Linked DNA regions of Homo sapiens: all the other regions are linked to region 2. Evidence: promoter capture Hi-C in 16 types of primary human blood cells and fetal thymus (Javierre and others, 2016). All regions are on one chromosome and are shown on one strand. The core of a region is centred on a gene start or on the middle of the fragment in contact, and the rest is flanking DNA. Distances in the headings are between cores, read along the strand shown.

Region 1 (3,732 bases), core at 261-2,760, 530 kb before region 2:
TTACTATGAAAAGTAAAAGAAATGGATAATGTCCAGCATTTTGACTTATAGAAAACTTGCCCTGAATCTGCAACTTCTGAAGGGAAAATACTGTCACCATTGCTAATCTCACTTGAAGCTTCCACAGATTTTTTTGTTCCAAAAGGGAAGAAAAGTGAAATTAAATTTTGAATAAAGTTCATAAAGAAATGTAAAACATTTCTATTTTTCTTTTCAGTTCCCTCAACCCAAACAGAAACAGCTTCCTGCAATGGCTTAAGTCCATGTGTACATTACTGAATCATGACGGCCACAATGTAATTTTATAGGGTTATAATCACAACAGAAAACTTACATTCAGCAGTTTGTGTCACCTACAATATAATCTAAAAGACAGAAAGAAGTATTTACCAAATTACCTGCTACTGCTGTTATTCTTTTTGGATTTGTTCCTCCGTTTTAAGGCATCTCTGTCCTTGTTATTGTATGGTAACATGGAGGCATAACCATGTTCAGCTTCTAGAAAACAGGAGGATCCAGTTAATGAATGGGCCCAGAATATTTAATGCTCTCTCCTCTCTACAGTATTTCCTTTTTCCTTTATTTATCTTTAAAAGAATATTGTGGAAATAATTAAATGGAGTAAGGTGGAATTCTGAGAACAATGATTTAAAAAAAAATTGTGTGAATATCGTCAATTCGGAGCAGGTGTAAGGAGGATTCCAGCTGCTCATTGTTGAGAAAGACACAGTAGTGGCTAGGCTCACGCAGCCTGGGTTTCCCACTGGCTACATCCAGCAGGTTGGTGCGGGTTAAGTGGAACCAGCTCAGGCGAAGGTGCGGGGCAAGCACCGTGAGCCGGGGACCGGGAGGCGCTGCTCCTCTGCCCAGGAGACTGGGGCGCCGGGCCCACCTGGGGGCCGGCCGGGACCAGCCCGGGTGAGGTAAACCAGGGAGGCTATCGGAGGGGGCCCCGGCCACCCACTCGTGAAGGGCTGGGGAAGGGGCGGCGTTCGGGACCCCGGCGGGCGGCAGCCCCTTCTCCACCCCATTCATTGCTTTGGGGCAGCGGCGGCTTCCCTTCGGACCGCGCGTGGGGAGAGCCAGAGGGGTTGGGAGCGCTCGCGGTCTCCCCGCCTCCAACCACCCCCGGAGCGGCTGGGCGCCCGGACCTGAGGCCGGCCCCACAGGACCCCCGGCCTCGTTTCGAGTGGACCCCTCCCCGTCCCCGTGCACCTCTCTCCCGCCGCTCCAGATAGTCGGCCGCCTCCAGCAGCATCTGGATGTTCATCCGAACCGCCGCCGCCATTCTGCACCGGGGGCCGGAGCCACGGGACCAACCCCCACTGCCCACGGGCTCGCTGCCGCCGCCGGACCGCTGTGGAGCCCGCTATGGAGCCCGCTGTGGAGCCCGCTGTGGACCCCGCGGAGCAGGGCTGAGGGAGCCTCTCTGGCAACCACGCTCGACAAGAGAGGGAGGGGGCCAGTGAGCTGGGCACCGCCGACACAGTGACAGAACCCGGAGCAGAGCAGCAGCCGCCACCGCCGCGGAGTGTTTATCCCCGACTCACCATCTCCCCGCCCCCAGCCCCTTCTCTTGACAGGCCAGCTTCGGCCGCGTTCCTCATTGGGCCCCCCAAAGAATGCCCCGCCCCTACACTTGTGCGATTGGGAGAGGGCTTCAGGGCTCCACCCCGCAAAGTCCGCTCCTCTCGCTGGTTGGTCACACTTGACAAGGCCCGGGCTCCACCCCCTCTTTCCAACTGGTGACAGGATTCGCAACTCCGCCTCGTGCTCCTTCCTTGTTTCCCATTGGTTCTATACCAACAACCCGGGCCCCCTTTTGCTTTGTTAGTATTGGCCAAGAGCTGCAGAAGGCAAGCACCTCGCCGGTCTCCCATTGGTGAAGCCTTCGGAAACCTCCCAGCTACGATGATGTCACCTTTCTCCAGGCCAGGCGAGCCCTAAGTGGCTGATGGTCAGCAGCCTGGCTGCTCCTCACCGGGTCTGGCATTGGCTGGGAGGGCCGGTCCGGCGCTGGGCGGCGCTGATTCACCAGCCGCTGCGGAGCTCTGCTCCACCCGGCCTTGCCTCGGACCTGTTGCCAAGACCTGTCCCCGGGGAAAACTTCCGGGGACCTGCCAGGCGTCCATCGAATGGAAGGCTGGCACCTCGTGTCGCCTGGGCGCTCTGCCCCGCTTGGGTTCGGGGCCGGAGCCCTCGGTCTGGTGGCCGCGGCCCTGGAGGTTCTGGGCTTCGCGGAACTCGGGCTGGCGAGGGCCCAGCCTCGAATCCTCCCGAAGAGCGGTGCAGGCTAGTGGCCGGTGAGCCGGGAGCTAGGGCAGGCGCCACGTGGCTGCTGCGGGGCTTGAGAAGAAAAGCCGGCCGTTGTTAAATGCTCGCCGCTCGGCGTTTTTTCTGCCCTCAAGAAAGAGCTGGAATCGGGCTGCAGTATACAGCATTGAGCTCATGCGCCTTTTCCGCACCCCCCTCCACCCCCGGGAAGTGATGGAATAATTAATTACTTTCACGCGAGCGGCTTTTTAAAGCTCAGAGACTTCCTGAACCTACAGAATGGCATTAAACCCTAAGATTCTTTGCTTAAATCTCTTTTGGGGTTTTCCCCTCCCTTTTAATTCTAGATGAAAACACTCACAAGATTATTGTTTTTGTTTGTTTGTTTTGAAAGGGAGTTTTGCTCTTGTCGCCCAGGCTGGAGTGCAATGGCGCGATCTCGGCTCACTGCAACCTCCTTCTCCCGGGTTCAAGCGATTCTCCTGCCTCAACCTTCTGAGTAGCTGGGATTACAGGTGCCCACCACCACGCCCGGCTAATTTTTGTATTTTTAGTAGAGACGGGGTTTCACCATGTTGGCCAGGCTGGTCTCGAACTCTTGACCTCAGGTGATCCACCCACCTCAGCCTCCCAAAGTGCTGGGATTACAGGCGTGAGCCACCGCACCCGGCCAAGAATACTCTTTAAGACGTCTGCAAATTGTGTGTTTCCGCATGGGGTGGTACCAATATAAATGCTTAATAGAATGTTACGTATACAGAACTAAAAAGGTTAAAGATCGGTCCCTAAACCTATTAAAATTTTTGAAATGAAAGCTATCTGGCAAACCAAGCTACACTGCCAATGTACTGACAGACATCTCCAATTTTAAAAGTAGAAATAAAGTTCTTGGTAGGTTGAGTCCCCAAAATACAAATGAGTAAAGCATGAACATATTTCTTTTTTTAAAAGTTTATTATTGTTGCCAATATATAATAGCTTACTATGTGTAGGTATCCTACCTACATTATCTCTAATCCTCAATATAACCCCATGAGGTAGGTTGTGTTAATTACATTTTGCACGTGAAGAAACTGAGGCCCAGGGAGGCTAAATGATTTTCCCTGTCATGCATTCAGCTGCAGACATGGAAACTGAACCTATGTATGTCTCACCCAGAGCCCAAATTACCAATCCTCCTGTTGGTAGTTGTATAAAGACAAGGTGGTTTAAACAGATTTCCAGACTGAGTCACAAAACACTGACAACTCAAGTACTGAAGAAAAAGAAAGACAAAGGTGTAAATGTAATTATGGTGGGAAATATTAAACATGTATTTTTTAATGTCCACAAACCCACTAAAATTAAATCAACTCAATAAATAGAATAAACATGTAGTAAATCATGCCTGACATATAGGCATATTCTGGTTTCAGTGGTTAACTGGATCTAAAAACTGATTCTTTATGAAAATACTAA
Region 2 (3,730 bases), core at 1,093-3,592:
TGTCCCCTTCCCTTCATAGATCATTTATTTTCTTCTCCTTCAGGCCTTATTCCCAAAGGTCCAGTTAAGGCGGAGCTCTGTATAAAGGGAGGTCAGGCACCCAAAGTGTGTATCTTAACTGGCGCATGGTTACAAAGAGTTCTTTGTTGTGTTGGGTTAGTGAGGTTCTTCAAGGCTGATTTGGGAAAATACTGTCCTTCAAAGTTTCTTCTCTTTTTTGTCAAATTATTTTTTTATTTACTTTTTTTTTAACTTTTTTTTTTTTTTCTGAGTTGGGGACTTTCCAGTCTTTACTGAAAACTTTTAAAAATTTGTATTTAGACAAATTCTAAAAGACCTGTAACACTAGTTTCTTCTTCTCAACTGATTCATAAATATCTTCCAAAATAGTTTGTTGAGTGGAGATGGATAAGACAAATTGATAGTCATTGTGGTGGAGTAGCAGGCAGAAGAAGAAAGCAAAGGGTTAAATAGATTACTATAGTTGGAGCATGAGAACTCTGGTAGTACTGCTGACATTTTCTTTGTGGCATTGACAGGTTTGCTGCCAGTGCACAAAGATGTTGCTTAAGCATTGGAACCATACCTTGGCTTTTAGGTAATACAACGGAGTTCTAACCAGAGCCTTAGATGAGGGTTCTGAGGCTAGATGTATATCCACAGTCTTTTGTTTCTTGAATTAAGAAATGTATTATTACCAAAAAGCTCACTGTTTTTTTTTTTTTTAAACTTTGCTCTGGGTGATCCAGGGACCTGTTTAAGGGATTGAAATATCAAAAGGGCTTTTAGGTGAGAAATACTCTGCTTAGTTAAATGTGACATTTTTCAGCTTCTCTGAGGCAAGTGAAAAAAGGCACTTTTCCCCGTAAGAAGAACTGAAAGCCTTATGCTCACTTAATCATATAACCAGCCATAGAAGGTTAATTCCGCTAAGAAAATAGGACTTTTTTTCACTCATTCCAAAATAAATTTGATCTTTTACTTTGTGCTGTGGTCTAAAAGTGTTGGGTATGTAAAATCTAGTTCTAGCTTCAAGAAACTTACAGCCCAGTGGGAAAATACAGAAAATCATAAAATATCAAAGAATATTTCTTTACAGTGAGTAGCTCAAAGAGTAAGAGGTTAATGCATGTCTCCAAGTCTGTCTAGGGGGGATAAAAAAGGCTTTCCTGAAGAGGTAGCATCTAAACAGAGACGTGGTGGGGATTCTATGCAGAGTAACCAAAGTGTGCAAAAGATTTGAGAATCTTGGCCCAGTTGAGGAACTACCTGTTGAGCCTGTTGGGAGTGTATAGGGCTGGAAGGACGGCTAAGACCAGACACATGAACAGCAGTCAGCAGGCTAAGACCAGACACATGAACAGCAGTCAGCACTCCAGGAATTCTGTGTGCCATGTACGTTTTTGATACTACTCTACTCTAGAGCCATTATAGAGTTCTGATTACTCCACATTTGACTAAAGATACCATTTAAGGCTGTTTAAAGCAAATGCCCAGGTAATAAATTCTCAGAAACATCATCCCTCTCTAATCAAGTCTCTCTTGTCAGACATGGCGCATTAATTCATAGAATGAATCGTTCGTAAGTCAAACGCGCGGCTGTTAAAGCTAGGGAATTCCTAGCCGTCTCAGGTGGGTCATGGGAGGAGGTGGGCCAGCAGTTTCTTACGTCCAGGCTCATAGTCGGATAGTTGAGCCTTACATTCCTCCTCTACCCCTCCACAATAAACTGAGGGTTATGGAGGCAACGGATGCGGAGGGCTTTTAGGGGCCAAGCATATTACACAAGGAATTGAATTGCTTATTACCAGAGAGGCTGACCTTTGGGGCTTTACAGTCAAGAATTTTGTTATCTCTCTCCTCCCACCTCAACCTAATTCTTTGCAATTTTTTTCAGCCTTATGTTCCCCAGGATTCCCTTTTCATACTTCCTGCTTTTTTCCTCCTCTTTCCTCGCTTCGTGCAGTGCTGGCGCCTGGGGCCTGGGGCTGCACGGGGCACGCACCCGGGCTATTGCTTTGCTAACAATTCCATCCTTCTCTTTCCGTCATTCCCTGCCAGGTGCTGAGTTTCTCCCTCCCTCTCGGCTCGGTCCCTCCCGCGGCTCGCCCCGGGGCGGGCGTCTCCAGGAACTCCAGGCGGACGCGGCCACGAGCCACTGCCACGTCGCCGCCGCCAGCAGTCCAGCGCCTGCGTGGGCTCGGGGGGCGGGGCAGCGCTGGGAGGCGGGACTTGCGCGTGAGCGGCGCGTGAGCGGTTCAATGGAGCCTACGGGCGGCGGCGCGCTGCGCGCCGAGGGGCGGGGCCCGGCGGCGGTTGCTGGCGGAGCCCGGGAGGCGGAGAAGGCTGTCGTTGCCTTGGCCGTCGCATCCCCGAGGGAGTCGTGTCGGCGCCACCCCGGCCCCCGAGCCCGCAGATTGCCCACCGAAGCTCGTGTGTGCACCCCCGATCCCGCCAGCCACTCGCCCCTGGCCTCGCGGGCCGTGTCTCCGGCATCATGTGTGGTAAGGGGGCCGGGAGCGGGGGGCGTGTTGCCGGGTGGCGCTGGGGTGCGGTGCGGGTGCCGCTAAGGCCCAAGGCGACGGGCGGAAGCGGGAGTGTGGAGGGTGCGAAGTCTGGGTGATGGGCAAGGGGCGCCCAGTGGTGGCTGCGGGGGCGGGGGCCGGCATCCACGGGCGGGAGAGGGGGTGGCGGCCGGGAGAAAGGCACCTGAGAGGAAGGCGGGCCCCCTTTGCCGGGGGCTAGCGGGCGCCTTGGCGCGGAGAAGGAACCGAAAGGGGAGAGAAACGCCTTTATTGAAAAAGGAGGAGAGAGCTGAGGGAATTGAGGTGTGGAGGGGGTTGCCTTCAAAAGGGCCCACCAGGTGAGTGAGGAAACCTGTGGAACCTCGGGCGAGGTCTCTTGAACTTACCTTGCATTTTTCTAAAAATCTTTAAAAAAATATTTTACTTGTTTCTGGGGAGGCCCAATAGAAAACAGACCCTAGCTAGAGCCACGGTAGTGCCATTAAACGTGATACTTCCTGCCATCCCTTGTCTCAACAGAAACCATTGCTAATCAATAACTTGGTTCATGGGCTTAGACCTGATCCTCTGGTGGAAGAGGCCTTCAAATGTCTGTGGCGATAGGTTATACATAATTTATCATTTGCGTGTGCACCCATTAAAAATGCCAGCTCTGAAAAATATCAGTTATACCTTGGATGTATACCCCTTTAGAATACCAACTATGAAAAATATCATTTATCCCTTGCATGTGCATCCATTAAAAATACTAGCTATGGAAAGTTGAGCAAATATCTTTCCTAGAGCCTTAAAAAATTAAGGTTAGGCCCTTTTATTCCATGTTTTGAGAGTCGTTTATTATGACCTAAGTGTTAGTGAAAGAGACTTTGAGAATCGTGTCTGACATGACTGATATCTTCTAAAATTGGTGTTAATTTGGCTATTGCCAGTAAAAATAATTGTATTCTTACCTTTCTTATTGAAATTTACAACCGACTTTATCCCTGGAAGAAAGTACACTTTTTTTTTTTTTTTTTAAAGGGAAGTACCATTGTAAGAGAATTGAAAACTCTCTGGGAGACTTCTTATTTGCAGCCTTTTACACGAAGGAACTGAACAGGAGGTGGATTGTACTCGTTAGTGTATATATTTCCTGTATTTAACTTTATGCTCATTTCAGCTTCTGAAAATGAGGAGCAGGTTTAAATTTAGAGTAGATTAAAAAA
Region 3 (3,566 bases), core at 973-3,472, 830 kb before region 2:
CAGAGCTTGCAGTGAGCCGAGATCACGCCATTACACTCCAGCCTGGGCCACAGAGCGAGACTTAAAAAAGAAAAAAAAAAGAAGAAGAAGTTCGAGACCAGCCTGGCCAATATGGCGAAACCCCATCTCTACTACAAATACAAAAATTAGCCAGGCATGGTGGCAGATGCCTGTAATCCCCGCTACTCAGGAGGCTGAGGCAGGAGAATCGCTTGAACCCAGTTGGCGGAGGTTGCAGTGACCCAAGATCACACCACTGCACTCCATCCTGGGTGACAGAGCGAGACTCTATCTGAAAAAATAAATAAAATAAAATTTAAAAATATAAAAAGCACCATTGCATTTTAGGAAAGCTATCATATGTTGTGTATTTCATAGAGCATTTTCACTTAAACATTTGTGAAAAGCACCAAGTTTTCTCTACTGCTAAGAGTTGTTTAACATCAACTAATAGTGACTTCTTTATTGTTTCTAATGTTGTACGGAACAGGATGCTGAAAACGCCATTCAACAGATGGGTGGCCAGTGGCTTGGTGGAAGACAAATCAGAACTAACTGGGCAACCCGAAAGCCTCCCGCTCCAAAGAGTACATATGAGTGTAGGTGTATTGGAGAAGAAAAGGAAATGTGGAATTTTGGAGAAAAATACGCTAGATTTTAAATGTTAGAGCTGTTCCCGGAGACTTATTGCAGAAATAGATGAGAAGCAAATCAAGACTACTATTCAAAAATGTACTTAGTTTTCATTTTTGTAATTATAAATAATATTATTTCTAATGTCAAGTCTCCTATTAAATAGAAAATACTGGGTAATTTTTTAGACATTCGTGGGGGAGGTTTAATTCTGAACTGAAGTATAATATGTGTAATATAAGCATTTTGATCAAGGTTAATGTTACCTTTACAGTAGTGTAGTGAATGCTACTTTTCTCTTTCTGCACATTTTATTTAATGAATTAAAGACATAAACCTTTTCTCTCACCAGCAAATACCAAACAGCTATCATATGATGAGGTTGTAAATCAGTCTAGTCCAAGCAACTGTACTGTATACTGTGGAGGTGTTACTTCTGGGCTAACAGGTATGGGAGCCTTCCCTGTGTGGCATTAATTTTTAAAGTGCAAAGCTTAATATTTGTAGGATTTTTATATAACTTAGTGTGATTTGTTTGTTTTGGTTTTTTGTCTAACAGAACAACTAATGCGTCAGACTTTTTCACCATTTGGACAAATAATGGAAATTCGAGTCTTTCCAGATAAAGGATATTCATTTGTTCGGTAGGGATGGTTTTTTAAAAAAACATTTTTCTTGGTAATGTAACTGGAAAACCAGAAAATAAATAAAAATAAAAAACTTTTTCCTCCAAAATATTTTTTGAACATTTACCTCGTTTTCTTAAAAATTTACCTTGGTTATAAAAAAGTTGAAATTTTGGCCGGGTGCGGTGGCTCACGCCTGTATTCCCAGCACTTTGGGAGGCCGAGACGGGTGGATCACCGTCATGAGTTTGAGACCAGCCTGGCCAACATTGTGAAACCCCGTCTCTACTAAAAATACAAAAATATAAAAATTAGCCGGCATGGCGGTGCATGCCTGTAATCACAGCTACTCGGGAGGCTGAGGCAGGAGAATCACTTGAACCCAGGAGGTGGAGGTTGCAGTGAGCCAAGATCACAATCACTGCACTCCAGCATGGGCAACAGAGCCAGACACCATCTCAAAAAAAAAAAATTGAAATTTCTCTAGCATCCAGCGTATTTGCCTCTGTGATTTTATAGCTCCCTCCCTAACACAAGGCCAGTGAAACACACATTCTTTGTTAACACAAGTTGCCCCAGAACTACAAGATCTTTGAAAAAAATAGCAAAGAAAATATGCCATGTTACGCAAACTGTTTTACCTCAGACTCACCTTGATTTTTAAAAATAGGTTTTATTCATAAATATTTAAAAGAATTTGTATTGGTGATTCTTAATATTGTTTTCAATAGGTTCAATTCCCATGAAAGTGCAGCACATGCAATTGTTTCTGTTAATGGTACTACCATTGAAGGTCATGTTGTGAAATGCTATTGGGGCAAAGAAACTCTTGATATGATAAATCCCGTGCAACAGGTGAGAGGGTTCTTAACTTTGAGAAGTAATTGTTGGGCTAATAATGTTATTTTAAGGTGAAGATTGTTGATAATCCTTGTTAATAAGTTTCTAGCTAAAATGATAGTATATAAGGGCTCTTCCTACATGTATTATAGTTCCAGAATGGTGTTTCATGGATTGCAGTGGTGACATGATGAATGTGACCGCCTCAATTGACTCATGCTCACACAGTGGATTTTAAAATGCTCCGAGAAACCTAAAAGGGTATTACATCTTTTTTTAATACTTGGTAGATTTATTCACATACCATTTGGAGAACTCACAAGCATGCTTGACTCAACTGAAACAAAAATAAAGCTGTAAATATAGTTATGGCCTTGGCATTTTTCTTCCAGATTTTGCTGCCTTTTTTTTCCAGGCAGCTTTAGTGGTTCAAACTTGATTCCACAAAGATTTCTATGAGGAAACTGTAAATGGAGCACAGAGATGGGAGTAAGCAAATCCTAAACTATATAAGTGTCTTAAGTAAGCTGAATATAGAAATAATTAATCACATCTTCCCTATCTAAAGGAAACAATCATGTAGATAGTATACCAAACACTTAAACATTCTACTAAGTTTAACATTTATTACTAGGGTATCAACTGATGCCTTCCAAAAACTATGCCATTCAGAGTATCACGTAGAGTTACAGCAGTATAACCTCACTTGTTTTGTTGTTGTTTTTTGTTTTTTTTTTTTTTTTTTTTTTTTTTAGCAGTCAACTCTTGTTTATCCTGTCATTTTAATTGTAATGATGGCCCTGTGTGTTTTGGCTAAGAATTTGTGGTATCAGCATATTAGGATTGTATATATATAGTTAACTTCAAGTAATACTAAATTTTATTTAATAGCAGAATCAAATTGGATATCCCCAACCTTATGGCCAGTGGGGCCAGTGGTATGGAAATGCACAACAAATTGGCCAGTATATGCCTAATGGTTGGCAAGTTCCTGCATATGGAATGTATGGCCAGGCATGGAACCAGCAAGGATTTAAGTAAGCATATCTTATGTCTTCCTTTACTAACCTTTGAAAATGTCTAAAGAAATTTTAAGTAGGAAGAAATTTTAAGAATTAGTGGGTAATAGGGCCTCTTATGTAAAGCGTAACTATAGCCTTGAAAGAACTTAAAATTGTTTTTTAGTAAGAAAATAAGAGCTTAATAGTTGTTAAGCTTTTCACATGACTAATGGTCACTTAGCCATTCTTATATACACTGAGTTTGATGCTAGTTGTTGTATTCATTATGCTTTTTTCTGTACAAAGGGTTTTTTCAATATGCCTTGTTACATTGCAAGCTTCCTTATACACCCTGAATTACACTATTTTACTTACATTTCTGAAAAACACACTGGAAATAAAAATACTTGAGAGGTTAAAAAGGAATTTAGTGGGCTGGGCGTGGTAGTTCCTGCCTGTAATCCCA
Region 4 (3,365 bases), core at 717-3,216, 850 kb before region 2:
ATGTACCCATAGAGAAAGACAGGAGGGAAAGATGGGGAAAGATGAAGAGAAATTTAAAACCAGTCTTTCCTTAATCTAGATCTCCTTACTTATCCCAATGGTAGCATTTATGGAAAATTTGCTGCCTGTCAGTTACTTTAATACATTGTCATAAATGCTCAATAGAAACATAAAGAAGGTGTTATTTTCATTTCATGTATGAGGAAATGAGGCAAAGCAAGGCTGTAAACCCTAATTGATTTATCCGAATATAAATCTTCTCTGTTGGTTTGCCTGCTGCTACTCTCTCTCTGGCTGGTCATATGTTTCCCTGGGGAAAGATCATTAGACAAAACGTTAATGATTGCCTTGGCTACAGAAAAAACCAGGTTAGCCTTTGCCACTTTTTATCATTTGTGGATTCTGATCGCTCAAAAGCTTAGATTTTTATTATTCAAATCTAAATTCCAGTCTGTTCACATTCTGAGACTAATGTTCACATTTATAAATTTTATGCTCCCTGGACTGATAATATGTATATATGCTTCGATTCTTATTTAAAAAGTTAGTTTTTTCTGCATATAAATTAAGTAAAGCATATTCTTTTTCATTTATTTACTCTTAAATGCAAGTGACTTTTTCTTTTTTTTTTTTTAGACAGAGTCTCACTCTGTTGCCCAGGCTGGAGTGCAATGGCATGATCTCAGCTCACTGCAAACTCTGCCTCCCAGGTTCAAGCTATTCTCCTGCCTCAGCCTCCTAAGTAGCTGGGATTACAGGCATGCGCCACCACACCTGGCTAGTTTTCGTATTTTCAGTAGAGACAGGGTTTCACCATGTTGGCCAGGTGGTCTTGATCTCCTGATGTCATGATCCGCCCACCCCAGCTTCCCAAAGTGCTGGGATTACAGGCGTGAGCCACCACAGCCAGCCGCAAGTGACTTTTTCTAACTTCATTTCAGTGTTGCCTGTCAGCATTGATCTTGGTAATAGAATTCCCATTGTGTTTTATTAGTTTGAGTTATATAACATTTTTATTCTCTAATTTTTTTAGACAAAATATAGTCCCAATATATTAAACTTTGTCTTGGCCTCGTTGCTTTAAAATTTTTACAAGTCATTGCCAGTGACTCTCAAACTATTAATTGTTGATGTGCACAGTGACTGATGCCTGTAATCCCAACACTTTGGGAGGCAGAGGCTGGAGGATCACTTGAGCCCAGGAATTTGAGACCAGCCTGGGCAACATAACAAGACCACATCTCTAAAAAAAAATTAATTAACTGTACTTGAAATAAAATTGTATATTCCTCTATTTTAGTAGCTTTCTAGTCTTTTGAATTAGTTTTTTATTTTAACAAATCTGTTTAGGAGGCTATGGAAAGAATTTTAAAATGGCCTATAATGTCATTTGATATTTTGCACTGTAGGTGTAAAAATTGGAATTTTTTTCTGCTACTTGAATTTATAATTAAACATCCAGGTTCTATTTATCACATAGCCTCACCTACCTGGAACACCAGCAGAAAAGGGAAGTTTTGTTTTTTTTTTTGAGACAGAGTCTCGCTGTGCGCCCAGACTGGAATCCAGTGGCACCATCTTGGCTCACTGCAACGTCCCCCTCCTGAGTTCAAGCGAATCTCCTGCCTCAGCCTCCCGAGTAGATGGGATTACAAGCACACGCCACCACACCCAGCTGATTTTTGTATTTTTAGTAGAGATGAGGTTTCACCATTTTGGCCAGGCTAGTCTCGAACTCCTGACCTCAGGTGATCCACCTGCCTCATCCTCCCAGAGTGCTGAGATTACAGGCATGAGCTACTGTGCCCGGCCAAGGGAAGATAATTTTTTTTTTTTTTTTTTTTTTTTTTTTTTTTTTGAGACAGAGTTTCACTCTTGTTGCCCAGGCTGGAGTGCAATGGCGCAATCTCGGCTCACCACAACCTTCGCCTCCAGGGTTCAAGCGATTCTCCTGCCTCAGCCTCCCGAGTAGCTGGGATTACAGGCATGCACCACCACGCCCGGCTAATTTTGTATTTTTAGTAGAGACAGGGTTTCACCATGTTGGTCAGGCTGGTCTCAAACTCCTGACCTCAGGTGATCAGCCCACCTTGGCCTCCCAAAGTGCTGGGATTACAGGTGTGAGCCATCATGCCTGGCTGGGAAGATAATTTTTTTTCTTTTTTCTTTTTTCTTTTTTTTTTTTTTTTTGAGACAGAGTCTCGCTCTGTCGCCCAGGCTGGAGTGCAGTGGTGCAATCTCGGCTCACTGCACACTGCAAGCTCCGTCTCCTGGGTTCACGCCATTCTCCTGCCTTAGCCTCCTGAGTAGCTGGGACTACAGGCGCCCGCCACCAGGCCCGGCTAATTTTTTGTATTTTTAGTAGAGACGGGGTTTCACCGTGCTAGCCAGGATGGTGTCGATCTCCTGACCTCATGATCCGCCTGCCTCGGCCTCTCGAAGTGCTGGGATTACAGGCATGAGCCACTGCGCCTGGCGGGAAGATAATTTTTTAAAGGCTTCTGAGCAAGCAAAAAATTGATGTCAGAAAGTTCACATTCTAAAACTTATTCTAAAATTTTACTTACCAGAGAATCTCTTCAGTTTTCAGAGCCTATTTACCTATATTTTAAAACAGGTTTAAGAAGGTTGGCTAAGATTTTCTGCTACTCAGCAAGCTAGTAGCAGCAAGGAGCAATGTACATTTGTAGCAGTAAAAAGTAACTTATAACAGGGAGGGGATAGAAAAATCATAAAAAGCCGAAGTGAGACTTCAGAACTTAGGAGTTCAGTCAAACTTAATCTGTGTAGCTTGAACAAATGGTTATATGATGATGGGGTATGTGTAGCTATATATCCAGTTAGGATACCTAGTCATTAATATTAAATTATAGTACTATAGTATAACCTGTTGAAGAAAATAGCTATGTATAAAAGCAGTGTGATTTTAAGTGTTTGCTTTTTTTTTTTTACTTTTTAATTATTTTAGAGACAGGATCTTGCTGTGTTGCCCAGGCTGGATTCAAACTCCTGGGCTCAAGCATTCCTCCCACCTCAGCCTCCTAAAGTAGCTGGGACTACAGGAGCTGGCTGTTTACTTTTTTGTTTGTTTGTTTTTGAGACGGAGTCTTGCTCTGTCGCCCAGGCTGGAGTGCAGTGGCGCAGTCTCAGCTTACTGCAACCTCCACCTCCCGGGTTCAAGCAATTCTCCTGCCTCAGCCTCCCGAGTAGGTGGGATTACAGGAGCCTGCCACCATGCCTGGTTAATTTTTGTATTTTTTTTTAATAGAGACAGGGTTTCACCACGTTGGCCAAGTTGGTCTCAAACTGCTGACCTCATGATCCACCTGCCTTGGCCTCCCAAAGTGCTGGGATTACAGGTGTGA

What was found. The method cuts DNA at HindIII sites, captures the fragments that hold promoters and counts their contacts. A CHiCAGO score of 5 or more calls a contact.
Region 1: a contact is called between the fragment with the promoter of MXD1 here and the fragment with the promoter of GFPT1 in region 2, in 3 of 17 cell types (naive CD8 T cells, total B cells and naive B cells). The highest score is 7.5, in naive CD8 T cells.
Region 3: a fragment that was not itself captured here is called in contact with the fragment with the promoter of GFPT1 in region 2 in 1 of 17 cell types (naive B cells); the score reaches 5.6 in naive B cells.
Region 4: a fragment that was not itself captured here is called in contact with the fragment with the promoter of GFPT1 in region 2 in 1 of 17 cell types (naive CD8 T cells); the score reaches 5.6 in naive CD8 T cells.

Annotation. Positions count from the first base shown.
Region 1 is chr2:69,912,887-69,916,618 of GRCh38, reverse strand. MXD1 (MAX dimerization protein 1) reads right to left here and starts at 1,510. Exons shown (of 6, transcript NM_002357.4): 1 at 1,216-1,510; 2 at 399-498. The coding sequence starts at 1,288. RefSeq lists a silencer at 907-1,136 and enhancers at 1,787-1,986, 2,087-2,196, 1,679-2,284, 2,297-2,346. The HindIII fragment of the contact is 7,248 bases long and covers 121-3,732 here.
Region 2 is chr2:69,385,839-69,389,568 of GRCh38, reverse strand. GFPT1 (glutamine--fructose-6-phosphate transaminase 1) reads left to right here and starts at 2,342. Exons shown (of 20, transcript NM_001244710.2): 1 at 2,342-2,504. The coding sequence starts at 2,498. RefSeq lists silencers at 1,923-2,032, 2,093-2,762 and an enhancer at 1,991-2,550. The HindIII fragment of the contact is 6,543 bases long and covers 1-3,730 here.
Region 3 is chr2:70,213,919-70,217,484 of GRCh38, reverse strand. TIA1 (TIA1 cytotoxic granule associated RNA binding protein) reads left to right here. Exons shown (of 13, transcript NM_022173.4): 8 at 491-599; 9 at 986-1,081; 10 at 1,193-1,277; 11 at 1,991-2,114; 12 at 2,991-3,136. Among named protein-coding and RNA genes, the nearest start is that of C2orf42, 25 kb to the right of the region's middle. The HindIII fragment of the contact is 2,188 bases long and covers 1,129-3,316 here.
Region 4 is chr2:70,231,034-70,234,398 of GRCh38, reverse strand. The region is part of intron 2 of TIA1 (TIA1 cytotoxic granule associated RNA binding protein); the gene reads left to right. Among named protein-coding and RNA genes, the nearest start is that of TIA1, 16 kb to the left of the region's middle. The HindIII fragment of the contact is 3,093 bases long and covers 420-3,365 here.